Regions from separate parts of the Homo sapiens genome. Here all the other regions are linked to region 1. Evidence: promoter capture Hi-C in 16 types of primary human blood cells and fetal thymus (Javierre and others, 2016). All regions are on one chromosome and are shown on one strand. Each heading gives the region's core, a stretch centred on a gene start or on the middle of the fragment in contact. The rest is flanking DNA. Distances are from core to core; before and after follow the strand shown. Region 1 holds the start of SLAIN1 (SLAIN motif family member 1). Region 2 overlaps NDFIP2 (Nedd4 family interacting protein 2). Region 3 overlaps RBM26 (RNA binding motif protein 26). Region 4 has its middle 210 kb from the start of RBM26.

Region 1 (7,725 bases), core at 3,520-6,019:
TGCTTGGTGACCTTTAAAGTTCCAGTAATATTTGCCTGTTAATGAATCAGACTTTGTTCAAGGCATTCCATTGACTGATTTTGCATTAATCAATAGTTTTTACTTAAAAGCCACAAAGACCAGAGCAGAGTACTCTGCTTGGTGCTGCTTAAGACCTAAAAAGAGATAATACAGTTTAGGAGCTTGGACTCTGAAATCAGACTGCTTAGCTTCAAATCCTGGCTCTGCCACTTATGGCTGGGTAACTGTGGGCAAATTGACCTCTCTGTGCCTCAGTTTTCTCGTTTATACAATAAGAATAATTATCTCAAGGAGTTGTTTGACAATTTAATAACTTAATAAATGTAAAGGGCTTACAGCAATTCTTGGCATTTAGTAAGCACTAGATAGCTTCTAAGATAAATTGTAGAAAGTTTCTTTCTAATGGCAGTAATACATGTGTGAGCTATTCATAAAAACAAAACAAATCGACCACAGAGGAAAGGATATAGATTAAGAATTAGAGCTGGGTACTATTTCCTAGTTTTCATCCCATGAAGACTGATAAATGAATATCACAATACTTGCCCTGATGCCTTAGCTAACAGCTTGATGAGGAGAACCAAATGAGATAATGAATTCTCTTAAATGAGGAGATCCAAATGAGATAATGGATTCCTTCCTTCCTTCCTTCCTTCCTTCCTTCCTTCCTTCCTTCCTTCCTTCCTCCCTCCCTCTTTCTCCTTCCTTCCTTTCTTTTCTTCCCTTCTCTTTCTTTCTTCTTGCCTTCTCTTCCTCCCTCGCCTGCCTGCCTTTCCTCCTCTCTCTCTCTTTCTTTTAGAGATGAAATATCACTATGTTCCCCAAGCTGGCCTTGAATTCCTGGGCTCTAGCAATCCTCCTTTCTCAGCCCCCTGAGTAGCTGGGACTACAGACACATGCCTCCGTGCCTGGTTGAAATAATGTTTGCTTTCTACTTGAGGCCTTCCCAAAATTTTTAGCCAAAATTGCTCCTTCTTGATCACTCCCTATGCTGTTTATTTATATTTTCTTCATGATACATAACACTAATTTTTGTGTTATAGTTAGTTGCTTATATGCTTCTTTCTCCAACTAGATAAGGTCTTGATGGTGGAGACACTGTTTTCTTACTCACTTCTCAAAACTCATCTAGCACTTGAAAATAATAGACATGTAATGAGTGTTTATTCTAAAGGGCTCTTACAGGTATAGCTTGACAAATCAACAGAATGATTATTATTACTATTATTGTTATTATAACTACCACCACATGTGACCTTATAGGGTATAATTATGTGGGTTTTGGGCATGAATATGAGTAGTAGAGTTGGGTGGGGTTAGAATGGAGCAACTCACACAGGGATTTTTTTTGAATAAATTCTGACTTCTTGTATTTCTGTTTTCTCTTTCCATAATCTCCTTACATTAAAATGCAACACATTAGGTGCAGCAAGTATTTTCCTGGCTATTAACTGGGTCAGATGTAAAATAATTGATTATTATGGGATCTGCAGAAAGCCTCTAGTCTTCCTATGTTGTTACCATATGATAAATGAGGTTTATGGAAATAGCTAATTATGTGTTTGTCTAAATTCCAGCTAGAACTTGGGGATTTATTTATTGATTCATTTATCTTTTAAAATTTTTTGAGTATTTATTTGCCATGTGCTAGACACTGTGCTAGGCACTGCATATGGGCAGTGGGACCTGCAGTGTTCGAGTCTATTCTGTATGTATAAACAGGAATCTCCATGAAGAGGCATAAGAATCACTCAAACATTGTGGTTCAAATCAACTTGAAAACACAGTTGGGGATCTTTGATCTTAGTTTAACACATTAGGTTATTTTCTTTTCTTGCAGTAATTGGATCTATAAACTTGAATTAATGTAGTGCTCATATTAGGGTATGTCAGCTGCACTGATCGCAAAATTTAAACGTATGAATCTTACTCTAGGAGAAATTTTACTCTGGCCCACTAGCAACTGCTAAGAACCATCATTTTCATGAGTGAACTTGGGCAAGTAACATAACCTTGTAAGCTCATCTGTAAAACTGGGATAATAACAGGCTGTTTCTAGATTTCCTTTGAGAATTATTTTTATATACTCAAGAACCTATGGGTGCTTTTGCGATTCTGTTGCTGGATCTATTTAATGTTCATACACAGTATTAGAAATATATGTGAAAAATACAAATTAAAATAAGTTCATGTGCTTTCTTAAAATTCACTAGAGTGATGATAGTTCTGAAGTGTAATGAATAGAGAGAAACATGCATTTCTTTATCCAGTTTTGAATGTGTGATATGTGGATGTTTCACATTACCTTATGGTGTATCAAATGTATGCTTAAAGCATAAACTTTTAAATGAGACATGCACTTTCATTTTTCATATCCTCTTTGTAAACCTCTGAAATCACCTACATATTTTATTTAAAATCAAAACATTACAATTGAGCAACTACAGCATGCAATTTCTTTCAAAACACAAAGCTTACTAATTTGCATCAAAATAAAAAAATCAAGACTGCTTAATTAAAACCTTGACACCATCAACCTCTTTAATTATACGTTAAAGAGACTGGCATCCTGGGGACACCAACTTGAAATCAGTGTGCATTTTGAGTGTCTCTGGTGTGTGTACATGTGCAATTCACAGAAGGGAAAAAAAGAGGGGCATTAAGAGAAAGCAAAAACATGATTTAAATTTTCTTTAGACATTAATAATTTCACACTTTTAAAATAGGTAGGAAAAGGGCAAATTTGTCTTTTCAGAAGAATAATGCAGACTAGAATTGTAAAACAATGTTTCATCTCTTTTCTATGTCTAAATTTCAATGCATGCTTTCTTTTTAAAGAACAAAGATTTTTATGATAATTATTACTTAGAAAACAGGGTTCAAAAGCTTGGCTACTGCTTGTTGGATGTATATAGACCATATTGGGTAAATGAAGGAGGAAAGGGCTGTCTGTTTCTCTCCTTCTTTAGAGTGTATATAAATTGTGCAGTAAAATGACGGCTTTTCTTTACATCTTAATTCTTGTTGTCTTCACTATTATGTGCCTATTCCCAATTTCTTTCTCTAGTCTGGGACCCAGCAGCTCTTTGTTCTCATTGTGTCTGTCGTCTCCCTTTCTTTGTGTTGCAGGGAGATACTGCTACCCGCATCTGCCACTGAGCATGCGGGAAAAATCCTTCAATAGATTCTTTACTTAGGACTTTCAGTAGTATTACTCCATTTCTCCAGGTTTTGGTAATAACCAAAAAAAATCCTAAAGATATACCGAAACTTGGAAAGGTGATGGGTGATACAGGTGGTTAGGTGGTGGGCTAGCAAGCTGGGACACAGGGAAGGTTAAGGGAGTCATCACACGCATTTAGCTAATTTATGGAAGCGCTCACCAAGCATGTTAAATGCAGAACATCCACCCTGCACACAGAAGCTAGAGATGTAGATTAACAACTGAGAAGATACAAGTGTTTCTGAGCAGGAAGACACAAAACCATATCTGAAACCAATAGATACGATGTGTTAGCAGCTCCAGAGAAATGAGGTACATTGTCACAAAGATTGGTATGTAAAGTCCCTAGCAAGGACTTTCACTAGATAGTATATCATCTGAGGATGAGAACCAGTGGTGTAGATTTTTCTCATAATATAATCTCAGGTTTTCCTCTGATTGTGTTAAACACTCAAAATGCTAAGTCAGTCAGTATTCATTGAACACAACTCGATTAAATTCTTCTGCTTAAAAGCCTCTTTTAAAAAAAGCAGATTTGCTCGTTTTCCAAGTGGTAAGAAATAGCAGGTTTGCAGGTGAGATTAAAGTGTATTGGGTAGAATTCTGAGGTTTTCTGTTTTCTGCTTTCCCACCAGCAAGTCTGACTTTAATAACTTACACATTATTTAATAGAAGGAGCACTAAACAATTTTACTCATATTTCTCCCCATAACCATTTTTGCCTATTGTACTCATTGCCCGCATCACGAGCTCTTAGAATGGTTCCTGGCACAGAGTAGGTGCTCAAAGATCTTTTGTTTGGGGAATGCATGAATATACATAGTATGAAAAAAAAAGCAGTTCTTCTTTTATTGTGACAAACAATGATGGTAACAGTTCAAATTTGACTATTTTAGAATAAATAAGTAAACACTTGTCTCCTTAGCAGCTGGCCACTCTACCTCTTAGAGAGAGGGCTTTCTTCTCTTTCTTCTCGGTCTCCTGTCTCCCACCATTTTGCTTCTCTATTACCAATGAGAACATGAGTGGCATGGTCCCAAAGCCTTTCTGTTCCCCCTATCTCCACTTTTCGGTTTTTAGAATAACGATCCCCAGCCTTTAAGTTTTCTATAGGATTCGTTAGCCAGTGGCTATTAAGTGCTGTCACGGAGCCTAACAGAGAGCTGGGAAGGGAGCAAACCAGCGGGCCGGTGGTGCACTACTCGAGGGCCAGCACCTGCAGCTGCTTCTTTGGGAACCCCCTGGTCCCCGCAACCGCCTCAGAGACCCGCGCAGTTCACTGTCCCACCAAGCGGCAGGAGGAGGTGCTTGTGGCGGGAAAGTTCAGGCCAGGTCCAATCAGGCCCCTGGGATTAGGTAGCGAGGGTGGGTGCGGCTCCCCGGCCCCAACCCGGGCTGCCGGCCCCGCCCCCTGGGTGGGCTTCCCCACGGTTCTCCGCCCCCCCCCCCCCACCCGCCCCCTCGGCGCTCTTGCCCCGCCCCGCTCCGGGGCCGCGGCTAAAACCCGGAGCCGCCGCGACGCCCAGGGGACTGGAGGGACGCACTGAGCATGTGCAGATCAGCTCGGTGGTGGCTGCCGCGGCCGGAGGCGAGGGCCCGGTGCTGATGCGAACCGCCGGCTCGGCCTCAGCCCGCGCGTGGTCGGCCCCCCAGGCCGGGGCGACAGGGAAGGAGCCGTAGCCTCCCCGTGGCCCGAGGAGCCGGCGCGGCGGCGCGCACTCCCCGGCGGCCGCGGCGCCCTCGGGGCCCACGATGATGGCGGAGCAGGTGAAATGCGCCTCGGCAGGGGTCAGCTCTGGAGCGGGCTCCGGGCCGGTGGTGAACGCGGAGCTGGAGGTGAAGAAGCTGCAGGAGCTGGTGCGCAAGCTGGAGAAGCAGAACGAGCAGCTGCGGAGTCGAGCGGCCAGCGCGGCCGCCGCCCCGCACCTGCTGCTGCTGCCGCCGCCGCCGCCCGCCGCGCCGCCCCCCGCTGGCCTGCAGCCTTTGGGTCCTCGGAGCCCCCCGGCCGCCACGGCCACCGCCGCGGCCTCAGGGGGCCTGGGGCTCGGGCTGGCGCTGGGCGCGGGGGGCGGTGGCGGCAGCGGTAGTGGCAGCGGCGGTGGCTCCAGCCCCGCGTTCCCGGGCACCTTCTGCCTGCCTAGCCCCGCGCCCTCCCTGCTTTGCAGCCTGGCGCAGCCACCCGAGGCGCCCTTCGTCTACTTCAAGCCGGCAGCAGGCTTCTTCGGCGCGGGCGGTGGCGGGCCGGAGCCGGGGGGCGCGGGGACGCCGCCAGGGGCAGCTGCAGCGCCGCCCTCGCCGCCCCCCACGCTGCTGGACGAGGTGGAATTGCTGGATCTGGAGAGCGTAGCCGCCTGGCGGGACGAGGACGACTACACCTGGTACTGCCTGGCTCCGCTCCTTCCCCGAGACCCTGGCCTCGGGGGCTTCGGGCACCGGGGAGCGGGGGCGGGGGGCGGACGGGGGTCCCCTCGCGGCAGCCGGGGTGACTCCCCGCGGCTCCCGGAGGGGCCGACCCAGCAGGTGTTGAGCCAGGCGGTGACACTTCCCACGATGAGGCTTCTCATGAAGGCAGAAACCTGTTTTCTAATCGCTCCGACTGCGGATGAACCGGCCCCCCCTTCCCCCCATCTGCCATGGGTTCTGCTATTTGCTGATTGTTGGGTCCCAAGCTCCTCGTTAGCATTAAGTGCAAAATCCATGTCATCTTGTCTTTTTGCTCAGTGCTGCTCTTTTCCCCAGTGTTTTCGGAGGGATGACGGGGGATGGTAGGGGTTGGCCTCTGTCTGCGACTGTTACTGTTCTTTCGTTTTAAACGAACGCTGGACAGGATTTGCGTGCTCTTCCTCCTCGGGTGGCATCGGAAGCCGCGCAGTGATGGATCTCTCTTTATAGAGAGGTTCGTTCTTGCTGTTTGAATTTTGCAGTCGTGTGCCCTTTTGCGTTGCATTTTCATTGAAATCTTATTTTCAGAGACTGACTTGCTTTTTAAAATGGGGTGACCTCACTGGCTTTCCCATAAATAGTGCCAATAAAGAGGACTTTTCTTGGAGTGGAATGAACAGGTGGGAGGGACTTTTTTATTTATTTATTTATTTTTTTACCTAGGAACCAACGAACTGTCTTTAATTTTTTAAATTAAACTGTAGAAGAAAAGTGAGATTAGAGAAGCCTTATTTTCTTATTTCTTGGAAACTTTTTAGCTTGGTTATCAGAAAACTTGAGGCTGACAGCATTTATTCAGTTGACATCTGGTTAGCACTGTCTACTTTCCATGAATGAGTAACTTTAGGGGGAGGCTTGCTGTAGTCCTTCTTTACTTTAGGTCCTTTTTATGTAGGACCCTTTCTGTTTTTCCAAGCTGTGTTTTCATTACTTTCTTTGTGTCTCTGTTGCATGATTGCATGGAAGGGATTGGGAAATGGAGATCCTTACTGGTTTCCTATTGGGAACTGCAGTGTTCCTTTTCCCTTACACTCTGTCATGTGAGAGCTCTAACTGTAAAGTACATTAGTTAATTGGTTTCATTCAAGAATCAAAATATATGGAGTTACAGTAAGCCTTTCAGAGGTGTATTCATCATCCACCTTAATACTTTTTGGCAGCTGTGCAGGTAGCTCAAGGTGTAAAAAAATCAAACAACTCATCACTTTTGGGAACTTTAAGCCATTTTTTCAAAGCTGCACCCTTATTTCTGTAAAGTAATCTCAGTTTCAGTCTGAATGTGGTACTAGAAAATGCTCTCATGATGGTCCTTAGATTTCACTAATAACTCTCAGCCCTTATGCCACTTTCAAATTATTTTAGGTTGATTTAGTCCCTACTTAGCCTTTTCTGATGGTATGTATGTAAACAGTGGAAGGAAACTTGTTTACATTTTTGATGGGGAGATATATGGGATCAGTTTTATGCTTAAAATATTTGCATTTTAAAATTTATTGTGATATTGTTTGTAAATATGAGATTAGTAATCTATTAATAACTTTCCTTCTTTTGAATGGATTTCTGTCATATTTAGTTAGCATCCTATTACTAGCATTTTGGTACCTAGGCTTTCTTTTTATAGTTTAATTTTGTCCAAATAGCATTGAAATAATCAACTTTAACAGAAATCACCCACTTAGTGGTATTAGTATATTAGCTCTTCAGATGGTTTGAAGCAAATCAAAGTTGAAGCAGGTTCTATTTCATTCAACAAGTACACAGGTGAATAAATCAAAGCCTTGATGCTTTACAAATGTTTCTAGAGACAAATGGCAGAGAATCTTCCTGAAAACAAGCCTGAGATTAGAATTCCAGGTGGAAAAACAAGGAGGGTTCATTAATCTTAGTGGGATGGTCTTAAAAATTTTAAAGTTACCTGATTTACATAATTTTATTATTACATTTTATGCATCAAGATTTTGTTTGCATTGCAAATCTTTTTGATGAAGAAAATATCAACAGGGTTTAATTTTTAAAGTTTAACCCACTTGTTAATGCTT
Region 2 (7,725 bases), core at 1,858-4,357, 1.8 Mb after region 1:
ACTTTTTAAACTAGGGATCAGTCTTCAGCTCTGGCTTATATGATGAACACAACTATTTTGTGGTTGCCTTTAGCTCAGTTTTTGGGAAAACTGGAATGCTTAATAAACTGGAGCAATAAACCACTTGAGTTGTTGAATGTTAAGGGATGACTAAGTCAGGAGATAGGCAAGTATACTTAGGGGTGAGATGGTATGCAATGTTAATTTTTCACTTACTTAAAGAGTTTAAAAACAGCTTTTCATACTGGAAAGCTAGCAGTGATGCTCAGGGTCATCAGAAGGACTTACTACCATTAGCCAATGCACAAGCTTTATCTAGAAACTGCTTTTTCTGTGATCTCTTCTTTCCTTTCATTGTTAAAAGCATCCAAAATTTATTGAGTAAAGCAGTGGATAACAGTTTAGAGCTACAAAAATTCTTGATTGTTACCCTTCTAATTTCAGAAAAAGCCAGGTATGACACGTAATTTTATGGGAAATTCAGTTTTGTTTGTTAGTAAATGAGCAGTGTTGCTAACTATGACGAAGTTGACTTGGCTTGCAGCTGCTAGACCACATTCTAACTTTGATGTTCGTTATTTTATTATTTATTTATTTATTTATTTTTATTTTTTGAGATGGAGTGTCTGTCACTCAGGCTGGAGTGCAGTGGCGTGATCTCGGCTCACTGCAACATCCGCCTCCTGGGTTCAAGTGATTTTCCTGCCTCAGCCTCCTGAGTCACTGGGACTACAAGTGTGGTGCACCACACCTGGCTAATTTTTGTATTTTAGTAGAGATGGGGTTTCAGCATGTTGGCCAGGCTGGTCTCGAACTCCTGACCTCAAATAATCTGCCCGCCTTGGCCTCTCAAAGTGCTGGGATTACAGGTGTGAGCCACAGAGCCCGGCCAAAGTTCTCTATTTTAAAGGATTATGTACCTGTACCAAGCTGACTTCTAAGATTGTACCTGTACCAAGCTGACTTCTTATTCTGTGTACAAGTTAAATTGGCAGTGTTGATTGTAGCAGTAATTTCCCAAACTGTATTTCAGAATGATAGTAAGTGTAACTGGAAGATTTATAATACATTAGCATATTAAAACCATGAAAAATTCTGCAGTAAAGACAGTGATTTGGATTTCTTTAACCTAGCTCTTCCTAATCTTTGTTTTGTTTTGTTCTTTGTTTTTAAAATTTTAAGATTATGTTAACATTTCTACAATATCAATTTTCTATGGAACATAATTTGAAGTATTCATTCTACAAAGATCTGAGTACTTTGCTCTTGTATCTGGGGAATTAGAGTTGCCCTCGATAAATTAGCTGAGAAGGAGGCTTGAAGGAGGCCTGACTATTAACGGGTAAAAAACCTACAGGTTTTAAAGCCATCTGGGCTTATATATTAGATTGTGCTGTTTGCAATTTGTGAGACCTTGCTTAGTTACTTTACATCTTGAAGCCTCAGTTTCCTTATATTAGTATCTACCTGACAAAGATTATTGTGAGAAATAATATAATACATGTGTAAAACATGTAAAGACTGGTACATGATAAATAAGTACCCTTTTTACAAGCTAATAAGTTAGTGTGTTAATGTTTCACGGTTTCTGGCAAAAAAGAGGTGACCTCCAGGTTAAAGACTGATCATTACTCATGACATAGCAAGCAGCACGAACATCAGCATATTTGTGTAGGTTTTCCTAGCTACCAAATTCCACAGAGGGGCTGGGTGTCCATATGGATTCGTGCAGTGGGTTTGCATCACAGCTGAGGAACTCAGAAACTCAGAACCAAGGGTGCAGCTCTTTTTTTTTTAAAGCAAGCAGCAAATATCTTAGCAAACAACAAACAAACTAGTTCACCTTCTCCTGGGATGGCAGTTACACACTGTGGTTGCCTGATCTTTGTTCCCTGTGTAACTTATTAGAAGAAACAGCTCAGTATGAGGAAATGGAAAGCTTTACACACACTCAGCAAGAATGTGCAGGGACATTCAGGCCCATGGCTGACTGCCTTACTGAATAGTACATGTTCTGGATGAGATAATGTATAATGAGTTTTAGTTATACTCATTTCATTTTCCACTGGAAAGAAGTGTTGCAGGCTCTTACCTTTCCTTACTCTCTAGTTGTCACCTTTTCTTGCCAGCCTTATTCCTTTGATCGTCTCTTGTTTGTTTCTTTTGAATTTATCAGTATACTTTATCTGGCTTATATTCTTACCACACCTCTTTTACATAATCAAGGTTACCCAACTGCATAGTCTGATAGCTACTTTTCAGTTCTCATGTTGCTTGATTTCTCTGTTATACTGACAGTATGAATGTTCTTTGAAACTCCGTCCTTATTCCTGATACAGTTAATAAGAAGCTTTCTACTTCTCTTGACTTTTTCTGACTTTTCTTGTCTTAGTGAACTCTTTTTGTACTTAATCCATTCTCCTTAAATATTGATGCATTACCTGGCATGGAATATTGTCTGTTACTTTCTTCCTCATTTGACCATCCTTCAGGAATTGTTTGCATCGTGTGAATCATATTTGTAGAATATAGGTTGAGTATTCCTAATCCAAAAACCCGAAATCTAAAATGCCCCCAAATCTGAAACTTTTTGAACACCACATGATATCACAAGTGGAAAATACCACATGTACGTATTCAACACAACTTTGTTTCATGCACATATAGTCACGTTCATCTTTGGGTCCCATTCCCAAGATATTTCATTACGTATATGCAATATTCCAAAATCCAAAAAAAATCTGAAATCCAAAACACTTCTGGTCCCAAGCATTTTAAATAAGGGATACTCAACCTGTATAAATTTTTTGTTCTTTTGCTCAAAAACCTTCAGTGGCCCCTTACTGAATCTGCCCCCAACATTTAATAACATTTAATATTAAAACTTCCAAATTTTTAAAAAAGTTGAAAGAATTGTACAGTTAACCTCCATACAAATTGTGGGCTCTACAGTTAACAGTTTATTCTATTTGTATTGTTGTGTATTTATCAATCCATCTATTTTTCGATCCTTTCAAAGTAAGTTGCAGGGATCAGTGTACTTGCATGCAAGCCACATGTTTATCATTAGCCTACATTTTAATATTTGTTTATGGTTCTTTTTCTTTGAGGTAAAATCAATGTATATTAAAATGCACAAATCTTACATGGCCTAGTGGATGAACTTTGGCAAATTCAGATACTCATGTAACCCAAACCACCTTTGACATGTAGAGCAGAGATCAGCAAACTGTGGTCCAACTCCTGGTTTTGTAAATAAATTTTATTGGCACACAGCCATGCCCATTCATTTACGGTGGTAGGGTTGAGGACATTCATGTACTGCATAATGTCTTTTCATTCAATGAGGGACCTTATATACTGGGGTCCTGTAAGATGTGTTTAGATAAATACTGTTGTTTTACAGTTGCCTGCAGTATTCAATACAATAACGTGCTGTACAGGTTTGTAGTCTAGGAGCAATAGGCTAGACCATACGGCATAGTATGTAGTAGGCTATATATACCATCTAGATTTGTGTAAGTACGCTCTCTGATGTTAGCACAGACACTCATCCATCATAGGGACCCCACCCTCATGACGTCATCTAAACCTAATTACCTCCTATAGGCTCTAACTTCAAATAACATCACTCTGGCGATTAGGGTTTCAACATATACATTTTGGAGAGACACAAACATTCAGTTTGTACCACTGCCCTTTACAGATAAATTTAATGACCTGATACAGAATATTACCATCACCCTAGAAAGTTCCCTTATTATCCTTACTAGATCAATTCATACCCCCCAGGTGACTGTTCTGATTTTTTCACTTCAAATTACCTAGTTTTGCCTATTCTAGAATCATACAGCATGTAGTCTACAAAGCTTCTTTCATTCAGCATGAAGTTTTTTAGATTGATCCATGTTTTTGTGTATATCAGTAGCTCATCCCTTTTTATCATATAGTTTTCATCGTATAAATCGAATGAATACACTGCAGTTTATCCATTGCTGTTGATATTTGGGTTTTTAGTTTTCTTTTGCTGTTATGAGTAAAGCTGTTATATTCTTGTACAAATCTTTCTGTAAAGCTGATAGGAATGAATATTCTTGTACAAATCTTTTTGTGGACATATGTTTTTATTTTCCATGGGTGGAATTACTGAGTAATAGGGTAGGTGTATGTTTCAATTTTATAAGAAACCACCAGACTTTTTTCCAAAGTCATTATGCCATTTTACACTTCCACCATCAATGTATGAAGTTTTGGTTGCTCCACACACTTGCAAACATTCTGCTGCTGTCAATCTTTTTAATTTTAACCATTCTGGGTTTATTAAATTTTTGAAGTTTAAAATTCCTGTTCTTAGCATACAAGTTTTTTTGAATGGGCCCTCCCTACCTGTACAGTGACATATCTCTGTCTTCTTAATTTTTATGCACTGATTTCTCATCTGAAGTTCTGTACTCTCTCTAGTTTGTTTGCCTCATAAAATCCTGTTCTTAAATGTAAAAACTCCTTCGAATCTATAATTGAAAGAAGGAGGTAGAGAGAGTTTCTGACCTCTGTCATCAGCATCAAGGCAGAAGAAAGTTAGGATAACTTGTTATACTGAATTATGTGTTTGTGTGTCTTTCTAACCTTCTAGACTACTGCTTTTTCTCAAAGGTGTGTTAGGGTTCTGTCAATGTCTGATTTTTATTTCATCTTTAAAATAGATCTTTGTATGTTGAAAAAACTAATTGAGGAAATGTACACTCAAATATGTTGTATACTAAGTAGTACACCAAGTTGTATACCAATACTCAAATGTGTTATATACCAAGTTGTTGCTTATAACTTGAAGACCAGTATTATGTCAATTTGGGTTGCCAGGGTAAATTGCTTTTAAACATACCCCAGATTAAAATTTCTCTTGCTATTTTTGTGCATGTCTTGATATTAACTGTAAATACGTTATTTGGTTGAGTTTAGCTCATTAAAAAAAAATTATACAAATGAGTACACACCTGAACAGTGCTGAATCAAATGGTAGCCTTTGCTTAGGCACATTTGAGCAGTACATGATCTAATACTGGAGTACTATATGTGTAGTGGCAAATAAATGTATTGGAATTGTATCATGAAAATACCATATTATAATTTATAGCTTATGTTTTTGAGTGCCCTTTGTCAGATTTATGCTAAAGGTAAGGGAGCAGTTTTTAGATATCATTATTGATTATGAAACAAATATCCTATAACTCATTCATCTGATATATAATAGCTATATATTATAGTACTTCTGTCTGCTTCTGTTTTAGGTGTTGGTTAATAAGACAGTTAAGTTTTTGTCTCATGGCTCATGCTTTGGTGGAGAAGTGCAGATAGATAAGTAAGCCTAATGTCAGATAGTAATAAATTCTTTGAAGAAAATAAAGCAAGTTGATGGAATAAATAATAAATTCTATCAATTATGAAATAGCAATAATAGAACAGTACTTACATTGTATTAATAAAATGCTGCTAAATGCTTTGTACATATTAGCACGCTTAATCCTTCCACTTCTATGAAGTAGATAATGTCATTATCCTCAATTTGCAGGTGAGAAACATGAGACACAAACAAGTTAAATAATAGGCCCAGCTGTGATGGAGCTGGTATTCAGACTTGGGTGTTTTAGTTTTATATTGCTGTGTAACAAACATCTCTAAATACAAGTATTTATTTTCTTTTAAGATTCCATGGGTTGAGTGTGATCAGGAGATTGTTGATTCTACTCCACATAGTGTTAGCTAGGACTGGAGCCATTTTGGGGCTTGGTTGGGTTGGAATTTCCAAGATGGCTCACTCACTTGGCTGCAGTTGATGTTGTCTATTTTCTGGAAGCTCAGCTGGAACTATTGACTTCAGCATCTCAGTTCTCCTTTGTGTGCCCTCTTGATGTGACCTTGGCTTCCCACAGCATAGAAGGAAGAGGAAGCTGCCATTCTTAAGGCCTGGGCTTGGAAATTCATAATGTCATTTTTGCAGTATCCTATTGGTCAGAGCAGTTGTAAGACCCCCCAAATTCAAAGGGAGAAGAAATGAATTCCATCTGTCAGTGGGGGAGAAACTTGCACATACATGGAGGGGAGAATGTGATAGTGGCCATCTTTGGAGATGATGTGCCACACCAGTCAATTTGACCCCTTAGTAGATAGGGATCAGCTTAGTCAGGTAACTCCATCCACTCTTAAGTTGTGACAGTCACGCAGACTTGATTGAAATGTGAAGATCTAGTTCTAGTTGATGAGTATTGTAAATGTGTTAATAACCTGTAGTGGAAATGAGTTTGTTGATTGAAGATATAGGAGGAAAGCTGTATGGCTGCAGCAAAGTTAAGGGGATGGCCTAGAGTGGAATGGGACAAAACAGAAACAAATTTTATGCTGGATTTCATAGAAGAATGGAACTGTCATTTATAACTCTAGTTTATAATTGTTTCATGAAAGCAGTTAGGTCCACCTACATGATTTGCAAGGTCTAATGCCGAATGAAAATGTGGGGCCCTGGCCTGTGATGAGGAAGTCAATCTCCCCTTTCTGTAGACCTTGTTTTTGTATAGGTCTGTGGACCCCCAAGCAAATATGTAGTCTCCATGTCAGGACATGCTCATTACCTACATCAGTGATAGGCAAGAGGCCACCCTCTGAATGTGCCAGGGTGATTCTAGCCTAGGATGGGGATGGCTGTCACCTTGCCTTTCCCTAGTTGTAGGGTGAGGATTAGGAGGTCAGACTGAGCCACAGGGTTCAACTGAGTGAGAACACTTCCTGGAGAGGCAGACCACTGGTGAGCTGAGGTGTCAGGCCCCTGGCACATGCTCCATTGGAGTCCTATTGGAGTTTACTTATAAAACTGATATTTAGAGATAAAATTATTAAGAATTTTAAGACAGTGATCACAGGGTATTAAACCCCAATCATGGATTCCTCCTGAGTGGTGGTCTCATGTGACTAGAGTGATCACATGCTCGTGAAGATGACCCTGAAGCCTATGTTACTTGGGGTGGTGGTGGTGGTGATGTAGACCAGGGGTTAGTAGATTAGTAAACCCTTTCTGTAAAGGGCTAGATAGTATTTTAGGCTTTATAGGCCATGTGGTCTCTGTCACAGCTACTCAGATCTGCCATTGTAGTGCAGCAGTATCCATACCAAATATGAAAATGAACAAATGGGCTGTGTTCCAGAAGACTATTTGCAAAAACAGTGTGCTGGATTTGGCCTGCTTGCTCTAGTTTGCCCACCCCAATGTAGATGTTATAGGAATGTACCTCATATAGGCCTGAAGCTTGGCATGTTGAAGGACGCTTCTAAGAAATTAATTTTTTATTTCACCCAGTCTCTAAATAAATTCCTAACAATGTGGTGAGGTTGTTTTGCATCCCTTACTTGCACCTGATAATCAGCCAAGCACCTAGTCTGTCCTAGAATTGGGATGGATATGAGTGGATAGTAGAAGAGAATATAATACTCCCTGTGAGAGTGTCAAAAACAGCTTATTCAAATATGGTAGAATCTTCATTCTGTTAGTGTGATTGCCTCATTGAGGTCATTCTTGACTACCTTATTTTAAATCACTATATCCCATTCACAGTACTCCTTATCGCTGTTTCCTGTTTGTTTTTATCCAGAGTACTTATCATCTTCTGGTATTCCAAATATTTTGCTTATTTATTTCCTACCTCCCTTCTTTCTCCCTGAATTTAAGCCTCATGG
Region 3 (7,725 bases), core at 3,603-6,102, 1.7 Mb after region 1:
CAACTTTTAGAAACATCACTGTTGCCACGGAATTTACATTGGGGGGTGGGGGGAACCAATATGCATATTACACAAACATACGTTTATAGTATGTATTGTCATGTAGACACGTGCTCTGAGGAAAAATCCAGGTTGAAAAGATAAAGTGTAAAGGAGGAGAAAGGAAGAAAGGTAAGGAGAAAGAAAACAGAAAAGATAAAACAAGTATTATTTAAGATCATCAAGGAAGGACTCTGTTGAAGGGACATTTAAACAGGGATCTGAATTTAGATAGGAATGGAAATGGAATGCAAATATGCTTTATGGCTATCCGGAAAAGAAAAAATTTTAAAAAGCCCAGGCCAAGGGAACCCATCAGAAAGAGCCTAAGGCCTACTTGACCTTCTTGACACATATGAGGGACAGGAGTCCAGTGAAATGGAGCAAAGTGAGCATTCACGAACACTGGGGTTTCCAATTTTAATTCTCCAAGGATTTCAAATTAACTGCTTCAGTGAGCTTTGGCAAATTAAATTTCCAAATCACTATGAAGTCATTCACATCAATGATTTTAAAGGCATAAAAATAAAACTTTGTCAATTCCTGAATATACTGTGTTAAGGATACAGCTAATAAAGTTTTTTTTTTTTTTTTCTTTTCATTTCATTTTTTTAGAGACAAAGTCTTGCTGTTACCCAGGCTGGAGGGCGGTGGTGCAATCATGGTTCATTGAAACCTTGAACTCCTGCCAAGAGATCCTCCCACCGCTGCCTCCCCAGTAGCTAGGACTACAGGTGCACACAACTACACCTGGCTAATTTTTGTTTGGGTGTACAAATAGGGTCTTGCTCTGTTGACCAGGCTGGTTTCGAACTCCTGGCCTCAAGTGATCCTTCTTCCTCGGCCTCCCAAAGTGTTGGGATTTACAGGTGAGAGCAATAGTGCCCAGCTGGCATCTTTGTTTTTAAAAACAGTTCAGTTGGAGACTTCCAGCTTCATGCATACCCTTTAAAAGCATAGAAGTGACCATCTAAGAAGGTCATTCTCTTCCAACTATATCTGGGGTGGAGAGGGAAGTACACACACTAAAGTTACAGAAGCCAAATTAATACAGAAAATCAAATGTTATAATAAAATATCTTTAAAAACTAAATATTCTTAACAAGAAACAAATCACCTCTGGAAATAAAGGTTGTACTAATCCCCCAACACACCCATAGTGTGTTTTAGTTTTTCAGATTTTCAAAACAGTAATGAGACCGTAAAGAAAGCTATAATACTCCAATACAATATTTCAAAAAGTTTGTTTTGCACGAGTTTCTTGGAGACTTTAGAAATTCAGTAGAATATAACTCACGGAATTTAACCCAAGCTTCCATGTTCAGTAATCTTGAAAAGAAGCTGGAGGTGGTAGTGGGAATTAAAAATTAAATTTAAATATGTTAACTGAGTAACTTTAGAACACGGATATGCACCCACGTCTGTTCTTTCCAAATTTTCATTTTATATTCAGGAAAAATATCTAATTTGCATCAAAGTCATGATTTTATATTCTGTACTTAGAATTACTCTTTTAAAAATCCAAATTTCATTGCAGCAAGCATAATACATACATTGAAAATTTTAATTGTAGTTTATTACATGCTTCACTTAATTCAAACAAGAAAGCAAAAATAGATTACTTATATACAGTAATTAGTTACAGCAAAGACTACTCATTAAGAGTTATTATACACCCAGTTCATTCTACAAAATAAAATCAAAATATAAGCATATCTAAATATGATCCATCCTTGAGCATCACACAATCTATTAATACTTCTTCATCACTGCAAAATGTATCACAATACATGTAATTATAACACTGAAAACTATTGGCCAGTTCTTTTATTCCCCCACATCATTCCAAGAAATAGCATGATTCCATCTTACTTTTAGAACAGTGGTTCTCAAACTTTTTGGTATCAGGAGCCCTCTATGCTTTAAAAATAGGAACCACTCCAAACAGCTTTTTATTTAAAAGAGTTATATCAATATTTATCAAGAATTAAAATTGAGAAAAAATTTAGTTTAGTTTGATATAATAAATCCATTAAAACTAGCATAAAAACTCTCTATATTTGTTTGAGTAATCAGAAGAAGAATTTATGTGCAAACAAACAGGAAGCCCATATGTGGGGCTGGCTTTTTTTCTGAATCCAGGAGTTCAAATCATATCACCAGGACTCTCTATTCTGCATTTTTCACTTTCAGAAATGCTCTCTATGTGTGGCAAAAATGATGGCCCCCAAGCAGTTCCCAGCTTACATTATTCTAACAGCTAGTGAAACCAGAAAAAGGAGGCTACTCTTCTCTCCCCCAGCATCCGTACTGGCCTCTGAAAATGACTCATCTTCCCCATTTAGGTCATATCCCCACTGCAGGTCAGGGATAGGCAGAGCTCTATGATAAATAGCCTCACCTGAAATTAAATACCATATTTTTAAAATTAAAAAAAAAAACACAAAAACTATTTTTCCAAAATAAAATACAAATTTTCTGAGAAGAGTGACCAAGTTTTACACTTTTTGCAAATACCTTTGTTTGGCTTAATAGAAGACAGGCCGATTCTTACATCTGTTTTTACATTCAGTCTGTTATGACATGTTATACTGGTTGAAGTACATGAAGAAAACCTGACCTGACACAGATACATAGTTGGAAAAACAAGGACCTCATAGACACCATGAAAGGCTCTCAGGAAATTCCAGGAATCCTGATATCACACTTGAGAACCATAGCTTTAGAAGTTACATAACTTCTAAATTAAATAAAAAAAAAAAAAGAAGTGCCCATTAAGTGTCAAAGACCCAATAGTCAGATAACAAAACCAAAGTAAAAGTTTGTACTGTTCAGTGCAAACAGCAGCAGCCCAAATGACAAATTAAGCCCAGATAGTTGTGGTTATAATTATGGTTATACATCAAGCCACAGAACTCTCTCTTTAAAAAAAAAAAAAAAAAAAAGGTGTATCTGCAATATGGTAACCCATGACTAACCTTCATATTTAGGGTTTTTTTTTTTTTAATTCCTATTCATAGTTGAGGAAGAATTGAGTTATCTGAGAAAAGACTGGTTCTAGAGGCCACCCCCACTCCATTACTCACATTCTGTCTAGTTAACAACAGATCTCAGGTAACCCATCCCTCTGGTTACTAAAATGAGAGAGCAGAGGCTAGTGAACATTTTCTTTTAAAACCAAAAAGGCAAAATTATCCAAAAGAAATAGCACTAAAACTAGAAATACAAAAAACCTAGTTCTATCATCCTGTTGGATAAATTTGGCTGAGTCGATTAAGCCTTTAACCTTTTTCTCATATTTCTTTAAAAGGTCTGGCTAATGCTGTGTGGTTATATATGTTAGAGATTCACTTCTAAGTCTTTCTCTAACATTGCTACCAAAATTTTCTGATACGGTTACCACAGTCATGCCAAAATTTATCTTTAAAAATGAGAAATTATTATGGACACTTTTCCGGTCATGAATCTTAAGACTAAGCAAACTAAGCTTCAGTTTTTTCATCTAACAGCTGACTTGCCAAACTAGAAATAATTACAAATAAATATAATTACAAATAAGACACACTTTATTAACCTGCCAAGCACCCTAACAATCGTTAAGGGATTACTAAATAATGAACTATGATAAAAAAAAATGCCTATAATCACCCCTAAAAATATACTTTAGTTAAATTCTGGTTGCTATATTTTAAGTCCTATATTACCTTTCAAACCTACTTTGTCCCAAGCCAAATTGTTAGCCTTTCCATGAAGCAGTCTGGTATTGAAGAAAAGCACTGAACTGTACTCCAAAAAACAATTTTCAGATTTCCAGTCTGGTGTTATTTCTGCTTTATTCACTAGTTATATAATCCTGCGTTAGCATTTTATTTCTCTAGGCTTTAGTTTACTCATTTAAAAAAAAAAAAAAGGCACTGAACCATACGATCTGAAAAAGTGGGTCATTTTTGTGAAAAAATATTTGGCTTTCACCACCTTGCGCTCTTTCTCCCTTCCCATTCCAGTAACTTTTAGTTAACTGAATTTCAAAATAATTTAGTACATAGCATTAGAATCTTCAAGAGAATTTTTTTTCTTTATGTCTTTCTAAAGAGTCACAGAATCCCATTTCCTCAGCACTCATGACCAAATTTTGAGCCCTTAGAAGGCATAAATAAATTCTACTTAATAGAAACATTTTGTGTATTTCTCCTAAATTGCCAGACCTATATAATTTCTGTACATTGTTTCTACCACTGTTACATAGCAACTACTGGTATGTTTGACTGTTTCTCCCATTGGTATTACAGATAACTATGCCTGCCTTTTCCCTAGAACAAATCACAATGTATTGAGAAGGAGCTTCTAATTACCAACATTATAGCAATCTAAATTCAGGCATTTCACAACTCACTCTTAAACTAGACTAAGAAATAGCTAACTAGTCTTCCTTTGTCTTCAAAACGTTTTATCTAATCAAACCTCTACATGCCATAAACTGGAATGCAGTGGCGATCTCAGCTGACTGCAACCTCCGCCTCCCGGGTTCAAGCAATTCTCCTGCCTCAGCCTCCCCAGTAGCTGGGATTACAGGCATGTACCACCACGTCTGGCTAATTTTTGTATTTTAAGTAGAGATGGGGTTTCACCATGGTGGCCAGGCTGGTCTCGAACTTCTGACCTCAGGTGATCCACCCACTTGGGCCTCCCAAAGTGCTGGGACTATAGGCGTGAGCCACCTCGCCCAGCAAGCAACATTCTTAAAAAGAGACTGGATCAAGTAACTCCTGTTTTAACCTTCCCCACATCTCATAATATAGCTCCAAAATTGTCCAATCACTTCAGTATAGCAATAAAACTTTCTCTACATCTGAAACCCACAGAGGCTAGGTGGATTCAAGAGCCTTTTCCTAATCACAATGTATACTCACGATTCCTCCAAACTTCATGTATTCTCACAGAACTTAACTGTTCCTCCAATTTGGCTGTTTAATGTCATCACAGGCATCCAAACTTAACATGATTCAATTTAGGTAAGTGCATTAACAACTTTAGAGACTGGTAACTGCAAGTTTATAAAGCAGTTTTCAAAAATAAGTTCTACCTATTTCAGTCTGCTTGCTACTATAAAAAATTAAACTTTTTAAAAAGGTAAGATAAGCACTTGAGATCATTAAAGAAAGTAATAGTAACAAATAAGAAACGTCACAATGACAATTTCTTACAAAATATGTCCAAAAAAGATCACAAGTTACAGGCCTCAAAGTACCTGTTATTGCATTTATAACTATTACAAGGAGCAACAAATAAACGACCGGCTGAAGTATATATTAATGCTATGTGGAATCTATAATCATTCAAACACTTTTCATTTATAAGTGACTTCATTTAAGATTTTATAAATTTTTTTATCAACTTTTAAATTGCCTGTAAAATGGAAAATAAATAATTGCAGAATGTATGGAGCAGAGATATACAGAACTCAAAAGTAGGCTAGAATTTACACTGACACACTATCTCCCGTAACTTCTTTTAAAATGGCTCTTTGAAACAAAAAACAAAATGAGGAACTACTTATAATGCAATACATAACATCATAAAACAAGTTCCTCTGAAGTACTAGATTTAAACCAAGAAAGTATACTTAATACTAAGAAAGCCTCCAACAGCAGCATTAGCTGACTTCTAGAAAATAACTTCTACTAATGAGAATAAAGCAAACATACACATAGAGGAAGATGTTCATTGCAGAGTTATTTAAAAAGTCAAAAACAGTGTACTAGTTGCGTTGTTAAAGAAAAAAAGAAACGGGAAAAAAAATAGTTATTTGGAAAGCCAAAGAAAAAAGCAAACAACCTAAATGACAAATAAGAACAGAATGGTTACATAAACTATAGTCTCTCATCCATGTACTAACCAAGCCTAATCCTGCTTGCCTTCCAAGTTAGATGAGATCAGGGGTGTTCAGAGTGGTATGGCCGTAGATGATTTGGTCATGCAAAAACACTGGATTTCAGCCATTGTAACGGCATAAAAACTACATATTAACAGTAAAAGTTCAAGGATGGGAAACGTAAAGAGGATTTTGCTTTTCAAGTCAAAGTCTTTTGGTAAGTTTTCCTTGACTACATACAGGAAGTACTTAAATAATTCAAGAAAATAAGCTTTTTTCCCCTAAAAAGTAATAATTACATCATAAATAAAGCACTATTTAAACAAAGTGCAATACACTCACATAATGGAATTCTATGGAACCACTGGAAAGAATAGGAATCTACCTAACAGTATACTTTTATGGGATGATGTGCAGTGTTACTGGAAATACTAGTTGTAGTAGCAACATATAAATGATTCTATCTATGAAAAAAAGTCATGTATATTCATCAATAGGTGGCACATGCATATTTTTACAGATATATGTTTACAAGTTTATATATGAGAATCAGAAAGGAATAAGAAGACTGATTTTTGGTTTCTATTTCTACACTGTTTAAATTTTTATTAGAACCATCATGTACTATTTTTAATTAGTAAGACTTAAGAAATTGTGTCAAATTAACAATAATGAGAGCATTATTATTGTTAACTACTGTATATACCATGATTCTGACAACAGAATACTACTCAGCAATACAAAGAAGCAAACTACAGATATATGCAATAATATGGATAAATCTCAGGCACATTAAAGCCTTGCTCAAAATAATACTCTGATTCCACTGACAGAAAAGTTCTACAACAGGTAATACTAATATATAGTGTAAAAAAGGCAGAACACTGCTTTCTTCTAGAGGTAGGTGGGGGCATGGGAAAAGAAATGAGTAAATTTTCCAGGGCAAGGGTAATGTTATCTTAACAGGTGACTGGGTTACAAAAATGTATACACTTGTAAAAACTATAAAATGGTACACTTAAGATCTGTGCACTTGATTGTATCTGTATTCTAAAATTAAAATAAAACTAAAGTACTGAAGTAAAGCATGGTATGCATGCTTTAGGGGTAAGTGCACTGACATCTGCGATTTACTCTGAAATGAACCAAAGGATAATAGTGACAAGCACACTAAAATGTTAATGGTAGAATCTCAATGACGGGTATGTCACTGTAAAATTCTTTCAACTTTTCTGTATATTCAAAATTTTCAAAATAAAGTTGTAGGGCAAGGGCAGTCAAGGAAAACCAGGCAGGAAAATTCTAAAAATGAACATTATTGACAGAGGACTAGCCTTTCATCACCAAAAATAAGAGAATAGTGTAAAAGATATAGATCAATATATAAAAAGTCTAGAATAAACCCAAATACACATAAGAACTTAGTATCTATTTAAGGTTGCATCTCAAATCCCTGGGAAAACATGGATTATGCAGTCAAGTTTTATAGAGATAACTTTGTGTGCATCTGAATAAAAATACATAAATAAGGCTATATCCATACTTCATACCTGGATTTTCTTTAAAAATAAGATCATAAAGGACATGGATGATACTACTTGAGAAAATACAGTGACTGGTTTCCATTTTGCCTCACTGACTTCTCGTGGTAAGTCACAGTATGATTTGTAGCACGCATATAGTCAATTAGAGTTCATTAATTGACTGGTAACCCAATTAGTATGCTGGCATACAGTAAGCACAACTAGTGATAGCTTTCGCTATAATATCACTGGCAGTAACTTCATCTCAAAATAGGGAAAGTTTTTCTGACT
Region 4 (7,725 bases), core at 3,751-6,250, 1.5 Mb after region 1:
TTCACACCTCCTAGAAAGATTTCTCTAGAGAGCCATTTACTTCATTTTTTCAGTTCCTGCAGTGCCAGTAAACCTCGCAGAGGAAATGTTATGTAGAGGGAAGTGAACAACAAGGGAGGTGACTCCCTAAAACAAATGCAATAATAATTCAACACACTCCAGCCACACTGCAATGCAGAAACCAAGTAAACAAGCCATTGCTTTCGCATTCACTGTGCTAAGATGTGAGCATATCTGCATTATACCTGACAGAATCAACCTCTGAACAGCAGAGAGCTCAATGGTGCCAAAGCAGAAGTTGGCAATAGCACCAACAACTCTAGCACTTCTTGTTCCTATCCTCTTCTGTATAGTGCTTCAAGAAATAGGTCCCACCATAAGAAAAACAACAACAACAACTAAAGATGAGACTTCTGCAATCAAAGAGGGATAGAGTTAGGCTTGTCACACTTATGAGGAAGTTCAAAGCCGAAAACACAGGGCAAAACAAAGTTAAAGATAAAAGAACTGAAAGGCAATGCCATCTATGCTGATACTGAATTCCATTTTAGAAAAAGAAGAAATTAAGTGGAGGAACTTGTTGGAAGGGAATGCTCTGCTCTTCTTTATTTCTTATGTTTTCTTCCTATGAAACAAACATGTTAGTGTCACTCCAGCCTCTCCCTGCCCCCTTCCTCACTGCAGTCTGGGGGAAGAGGAGTGGCATGTGTGCTTGCTAAATTTGGAGAAGAATTTGGGAACTTATCTGGCCTATGCCAGTCAAGTGACACCAAAATGTGGGAGTGAGGAGCAAGTCTGTCCAGTTCTAGGTTCAAAATCAACAAGCTCACTAGAGTAATAGACTCTAAGCTCTGTCATCCAATCTGAATTCTATTAGTGGCAATAGGGACATTTTTTATTCCATATTTACTCTTGGCTCTATTTCTCAACTTGCTTGGAACCCACGTGGGAAAGAGAGTAGCCACTCATTAGAGACCACCATGGAAAGCCCTCAAACTTTCACTGTTAAAATAAAATACTCAGGGTGTATCCTTCTTTCTAGAGAGAATCAGATCACTTGTTCAAGCTTCCTATTCTTCCACTTTACCACTACTTTTCCACCAGTGAATCTCTAACCATCCCTTTCCCAAGCTCCTCATACCCTCTTGCTGTCTTTCCTGCCCCATCAAAGCTTGCTTTCATTTGGTTTATTTGTATCTAGATGTAAATGACTAATAACAATTTCTAACATGTTAGCTCATCAGAATTCAGCTTTTCAGATCCCTCAGGATTCTTTAACATTTTAGACTCAGAAGACCTCAAAATACAATGTCCTTATAGAAAATATAGTGGCATCAAGGTAATGGCAAATAACAAATGCACCTGAGAGAAGTTACGGATTGTACCCAGTGTGTCTTTGTGGTGGGATGGAATTTGGGGTCTGTGCATTTCAGAGAATATTTTTACTAAATAAAATAATTGGAGAGAGACTAGGCCAAAAACATAGTATTTTTTTCCAGCTAACTGGTAGTCATTCTTTAAGACTGATTTTTTAAATGTTGTCTTATTGATAAGATCTGACCTCATTTTCCTACATAGGGCAGTTCTTCCTCACCTGTGCTCCTCACAGAAATCACAAGGCTCTTCTCTCCCCTTTTTCTATTACAGTGCCTTGGGATTGTCTGCATATTCATCTGCCCACTAGTTTCTGATCCCCTCAAGAATGCAAGGAGTGTCCGATTGTCTTTGCATATCAGTCTGATAGCCAGAAGTATTCCATAAATTGGGGGGAGAGTTGGATGGAATTGTACCAGATGGTAGGAGTTCAATGAGAAAGAGAATAAAAAGGCTCACCTATTTTGAAAGTATTAATCTTTTCTCGAAAAAACAAGAAATATTAGAGAGGCTCTAGGAGGCAGAAGAAAGAAGATGAACTGAGAAGAAAGGTTACAGAACGCAATAGAAATGGCTTTAGGGGTAGATGAGAACATGACACCCACATTTAGAAGTGTCGAAGAGATTAGAATAGTCAGAAATGTGATATGGGAGAGCAAAATTCCCCCAAAGAGACAGCATGGGGAATGGCTGTGCAATAGCAGTGCTAACAGGGACAAGGACAAGACACGATTAGGACTGCTCTGACCTAGGGGCAAACAACCACTGCCAAGGACCTTAGAAGGTCCATCTTTCACTATCTAGAAAACTGGCTGCAAAAAGATGTTCATTCTCTTAAGCAGTAAAGCCAAGTTCAAAGACCTGTACCCTTAAACTAATAAGTTAAAACCCCAAAAGAAGGATTTTAATAATTATGAAATAATTTGAGGACATAACAAGAACTTCTACTTAAGAAATAGAATCTTTTGATTAATAATAAAAAAAGGCAATATGGAATAAGCATCCAAAAAGTCAAATGTTAATAATATTCAGCCTTGAAAAGGAAGGAAGTTCTGACACATGCTACAACACAAATGAACCTTGAGGACATCCTGCCAATTGAAATTAGCCCATCATGAAAAGACAAATACTGCTCGACTTCACTTATATGAGGTTTCTATGTGTACTCAACTTCATCGAAACAGAATAAGTACAGAGTGCCAGTTTTGCAAGATGAAAAGTTCTGGAGATTGGCTATACAACAACATGAATATAGTTAACAGTACTAAACTGTACACTTAGAAATGACTAAGGTGCTAAATTTCATGTTATGCATTATTTACCACAACAAAAAATAAAAATAAAATGTTTAATTTTTAAACCTTTTTAAATAAACCAATAATGCTACAAATGATTTTCATTCAATTATCTTCAAGACACAAAGGAAAAGATAAAAAAAAAATTTCAACCATAGCCCAAGTTATGTGGGTATATTGGAATTATTTGCTCATCTTAAATTTTCACAGAAGTAACACGGACTTCTCCTTAAAACAAAAAATCAAAATTTCAAACCAACAAACAATATGCTGTCAGTTTATTTCATGGTTACATCTTGAATTTAGCTAAAAAACACAAGGCAAAAATTCTCTGATGCTGTATGTCTTCAATATTTGCCCACCTACCCCGAAACTAGACAGGTTTTGCATTCTTATGCATTTTTCTCAGATTTTGTGCTTAGATTACTTTTTTTCTTGCTTTTCAAAAGTGCCTGAAACCTATTTCCTTATACCTTTGCTGTAATGAGGGGAAAAAAATTGTTTGATTAGAAATATTTAGGGGTGGGCAAAAAAATTTGCATTTCTGCTGACAGCTTCTATACTAAGTTTGGCCCAGTGGGATTAGAAGTCTCTGAGATATTAAACCTCGGAAAGAAGAATTTGTAATGGAAAGGCTGAAAGAACTTAATTATAGCCAGTAGCACCACTCAAATACTTTAAGCATCCTCAAATGTGCTGTGTTATCTTAAGAGAAAAAAAAAGATACAGAAAAGATGGAGGTTATGGATCAGACATAGGCATCACCAAAAAAGCAGTTTCACTTCTGGGTAATTTGGGGCAGCCAGTCTAACCACAGAACATCCGCAGTGCTATTTAAAGAACTAGAGAGATGTCACACTCATTATGACACCTGCAATCATTAAATCTGAAAATGACTTTAGCTAACTTCTCATGAGTGCCTCGCTCAGGACACCTTCCTTGTGTGTATTTAAGATCTAGAGTAGGAAGAGTCAATTGAGTTTCTCTTATCTTAAAGTAAAAGACAAACATCAGAAGGTCTCTGCTTTTATTTGCAAGAAATACAATTCTCCTATAATATATACTAGAGTTGACCCTGGAATAGATTGTTCTGTCATTTTCCTCATTTCTTCCTTTTCCTCACTTATAGCAGAAAAGTCTTACCCATTCCCCCACTCTAAGTGTCCCCTCTGAGCTGAGAAACTTGATGATCTTGTCACAGGTAAACAGGCAAAAGAACATCCCTGCACTTTCCACTGTCCTAGGCATGCGGCTGAATGCAGGGCTCTGCAGAGAGGAACCATCTCCACGCTGTTGTGCCTGTAGTATTGGGGCACCAGGTCCTCCACCTACATGATGAGAATAGTCTTTATAACTAATAATCCTTATATCAGAATAATTAGACAAACCTTATATTCTGAGGGGTACTGTCATTCTCTTAACCTAATTCCTGGAATCCAGTCCCTTATCTGTCTTAATCAAATTTTCTAAAAGTTCCTTCTCACTTCCATTGACTTAATGACTATTGTAGCTTTAGCTTCCTTTTGCATCCAAGACCACAGACTTCCACAAGTCTGCTTGATTTTCTTTTCCAAACACAAGGAGTCATTTTACTCATTGATTGCTATCAACCTATGACTCCTGATAGGCCTTATCATGTTTTAAAACCCTCATCCAAATTCCAATAGCTCTGTTTTCTGGAACCTGAACTGCCCTTCCACCCCCAGCCACCCAAATCTCTCCTATTTCTGATTCCCTGAGAGAATGTTTTCCCTCTCTCATCCATTCCATGAAGCAACACATTCTTTCATGGATTTACTGGAATTCGAGGGAACTGCCATTGCAGGTAAATCTTTCACATTCTTATGATGAATTCAGAACTCCAAAGTAGCAAAAGTAACATGATGAAGTCCAGATTAAAGTATTTTGTTCATCATTCAGATGGATTTTCACAGCCAGCTTGTATGTAATGATTAAAGTTGTAACCAGGAGCAGACTCCAGGCCATTTCTTGCTTTGCCTGGGAAACCTATTTAATGTAACAACTTCAGATCACTCTGTCCCTTGAGGCTTCTCTCCCACACCTATTAAAGAACACCACCAATAGAGATAGCTACCTAGATGACAACTGTAAAAAAGAGGAAATTTTGTCAAAGACAACCCCTATCATGGAGCTAAAATAATCAAGACTCTATCTAATGTCAAGCAACTTCCTTCTTAATATATACTTTTAGCTCCTGTACATATGTATTTATTTTTACTGCAAAATGTGAGATTACCATGTGCCTACCATATTCTAGGCACTGGGGATAACTGTGTACTGCTAGGCAGGAGGCCTGCCCTTAAGGAGCTGACCTTTCCCTGGCTGCTTGATTCTTTTTCTTCTTTATCTTTTTTATTGGCCATATCAGAAGCAGCTGTGAAACCAATTCATGCTTGTCTCTACTCTGCACTAACTTCTTCATTCATTTATTTAGTCTCTTCCTCATATCAGTGCTTCTAGATGAAACATTTTTTCTCTCCTAATATGCTTTTCCAAAATAAATTACTCATTTTGAGGTGCTTTTAGCACTATGAAAGACACTTTAGTGGCCCTCCTTAAAGCTGTCAACATGCACCCACATAGCCAAAGGTATCCTGTTGGAGTTGAACTGTACTATCCACAACCCAATATAACATGAGATAGTTGGGTTTCAAATGGTTTTGTAAGGTTGCCTTTCATTGGCGGGTGGTAATTCATCTTCCAATCAGGCCATCATCAACAAAAACACTTTGTGAGTAGAATACAATAACTCTTCTTTATACACTCCTGAGGTTATCTGAGTAAAATTTCTCATACCAAGCAACATTTCCTCAGTCTTTGAGCTTGCTCACCTTACCCTACTCTTATCTTCCCCAATCTCAGTCAGTGTGATATAGAAATAGAAACTCATTTTAGTACCCTCCTCGAGAGGCTGCTGTGTATGCCACCACTTTGTCTTTCAAACACTGATATGGATTGGCTGTGTCCCCACGCAAATCTCATCTTGAATTGTAGTTCCCATAATCCCCTTGTGCCATGGGAGGGACCTTGTGGGAGGTAATTGAATCATGGGGGTGGTTACCCTCATGCTGCTTTCATGACAGTGAATAAGTCTCACAAGATCTGATGGCTTTATAAAGGAAAATTCCCTGCACAAGCTCTATTGCTTGCCACCATGTAAGACGTGGCATTGCTCCTCATTTGCCTTCTGTCATGATTGTGAGGCCTCCCCAGCCATGTGGAACTGTGAGTCAATTAAACCTCTTTCCTTTATAAATTGCCTAGTCTCGGATATGTCTCTATTAGCAGCATGAGAACTGACTAATACAAACACACACACAACACATAGTGTTACTCAGAGTGCTTCTGTTATGCACATGGCTACTAAAAAGTCAAATTAACATTTAAGGAAATCACTCCCATCTATTGCGTCAAAACTGACTGAGCCAAAGGCAAACCCATGGAAGAATCAGAAATCAGTGTATCCTGAACTAACTTGAAAATCCTTACTCTAGACTGCAAATCAAATTTCCAGCTGATTTTTAGTGATGAACACTGCAGGTACACTTTTTGGGTAGCTTATGGACAATAAAATACCAATACGTAGTTCTCTTCTGGTCCATATAGATCAAAGCAAAGCCATTTACAAAAGATTTTCCTGCTTCATAATCCCCATGAAGTTGAAATTCACCTCTCTCAGACTTAATATTGTTTCTTTCTTCCCACAGTAAAGACCCGCCGCCTGTGAGATGACCCAGGCAGAAGTTCAACACTTTGGTACTTCGTGCCTCAGGCCTTTCACTAAGAAAATTGAGTGTGAGAACTTTATCTCCAAAAGTGTCTGCCTGTTGTGACATCTCTCCTGGGTCTCTGCAACCCTAAATTCTTCATTTCTTTTCAGAATTTAGCTGAAAAGCACTTTTTGCTGCCTGTTTATCTCAATGTCTGTCTCTCACTGCTAGTATTTATTGCTTATCACTGTAAGTCTTCATTGAATGTAATCTGTTTGGGGATACAGTTGGCATGAAAAATGCTTCACCAAATGAAGTTGTAAAGTATTATACATAAATACTTAATTCCTGGATTTATTTATTATCATCATTACTTATTTACCACCATAGGCATCCAGGACACCTTTGAAAGAAATAAATCTGGTGGGTTGCTCTCCCAAATTTTATCAGAATATCTTATAAGATATAAATTAATGTCATTATGTAATAAGTATTAAAATTCCTTATATGGCTAGTACACATTTTAGTTTATGAAAACTTGTACATATCTAATCTTCCCAGCCTTCCAATGGTGAAAATGATTGAGTCTCCAGGTTACAGGTCAAGAAACTGAGACTCAGAAAGTTTGAGTGATATTCCCAAGGTCACGTGAATAACGAATTTCAGAGCTGGGCTCAAACCCAGGTATCCTCCTCCAGGTCCTAAGCCCTTCTCTCTCCCACAGCTGCCTACAGGATCAGCAGGATGAAAGTAAACCCAGCAAGGGCCAAATGAGAAACAAAACAGGATCCATTGTCTCCTTTCTCTGCTTTGTGAAGCCTTCATGACAGGGTACAGTTTGGTATACACTGAATTTACATTTTATATTGGTGAAATTAACATGACTTTGTATTTAATTCAGGGTCATTGAACCCTAAGTTTACATTTGAGGTCCCCATACTGAATTTCTATTTGCAATAGTAGGCAAGCTAGAAAAGGCCACTGTAATTAGCCCTAATTAATACACTAGTTAGTACAATTAATGAGTTCTTTTCTCTATGTGCCCAAGAAATACTGGAGATACCTGAGCTACAATTAGGCCATTTAGTGGAAAGAGTCCTGTGCCAGCAAAGGGAGACACAGATCCATGTGGAGCAAAGAAAGGTGATGTTTGTTCATATGAGTGGAGTCTGTGACCTTTATTACTTTTAGATTATTAGAATGCATTTAAGTAATGGCTATACATGCTTGAAAGTCTGATGGGCCTTGGAAATACATTCAATTACATTTATTCCATCCAATACATCCTTACTCTGCCAATGACAGATACAGAGAAAAAAACTATG

What was found. Contacts are between HindIII fragments. The CHiCAGO score rates a contact against its expected background, and 5 or more counts as called.
Region 2: a fragment that was not itself captured here is called in contact with the fragment with the promoter of SLAIN1 in region 1 in 1 of 17 cell types (non-activated CD4 T cells); the score reaches 5.6 in non-activated CD4 T cells.
Region 3: a fragment that was not itself captured here is called in contact with the fragment with the promoter of SLAIN1 in region 1 in 1 of 17 cell types (naive CD4 T cells); the score reaches 5.5 in naive CD4 T cells.
Region 4: a contact is called between a fragment that was not itself captured here and the fragment with the promoter of SLAIN1 in region 1, in 1 of 17 cell types (total B cells). The highest score is 5.8, in total B cells.

The regions. Positions count from the first base shown.
Region 1 is chr13:77,692,918-77,700,642 of GRCh38, forward strand. SLAIN1 (SLAIN motif family member 1) reads left to right here and starts at 4,770. Exons shown (of 7, transcript NM_001242868.2): 1 at 4,770-5,622. The coding sequence starts at 4,997. It overlaps MIR3665 (microRNA 3665), which reads right to left and starts at 5,199; the gene lies at 5,095-5,199. RefSeq lists silencers at 4,528-5,087, 5,288-5,527, 5,688-5,837. The HindIII fragment of the contact is 5,751 bases long and covers 2,906-7,725 here.
Region 2 is chr13:79,483,424-79,491,148 of GRCh38, forward strand. The region is part of intron 1 of NDFIP2 (Nedd4 family interacting protein 2); the gene reads left to right. Among named protein-coding and RNA genes, the nearest start is that of NDFIP2-AS1, 6.1 kb to the left of the region's middle. The HindIII fragment of the contact is 1,519 bases long and covers 2,349-3,867 here.
Region 3 is chr13:79,383,628-79,391,352 of GRCh38, forward strand. All of the region lies in intron 1 of RBM26 (RNA binding motif protein 26), which reads right to left. It also overlaps the pseudogene RNA5SP33. Among named protein-coding and RNA genes, the nearest start is that of RBM26, 19 kb to the right of the region's middle. The HindIII fragment of the contact is 2,656 bases long and covers 3,525-6,180 here.
Region 4 is chr13:79,191,001-79,198,725 of GRCh38, forward strand. No RefSeq gene overlaps it. Among named protein-coding and RNA genes, the nearest start is that of RBM26, 210 kb to the right of the region's middle. RefSeq lists a silencer at 1-52 and enhancers at 3,238-3,327, 3,438-3,657, 3,918-4,037, 6,911-7,542. The HindIII fragment of the contact is 7,662 bases long and covers 1,170-7,725 here.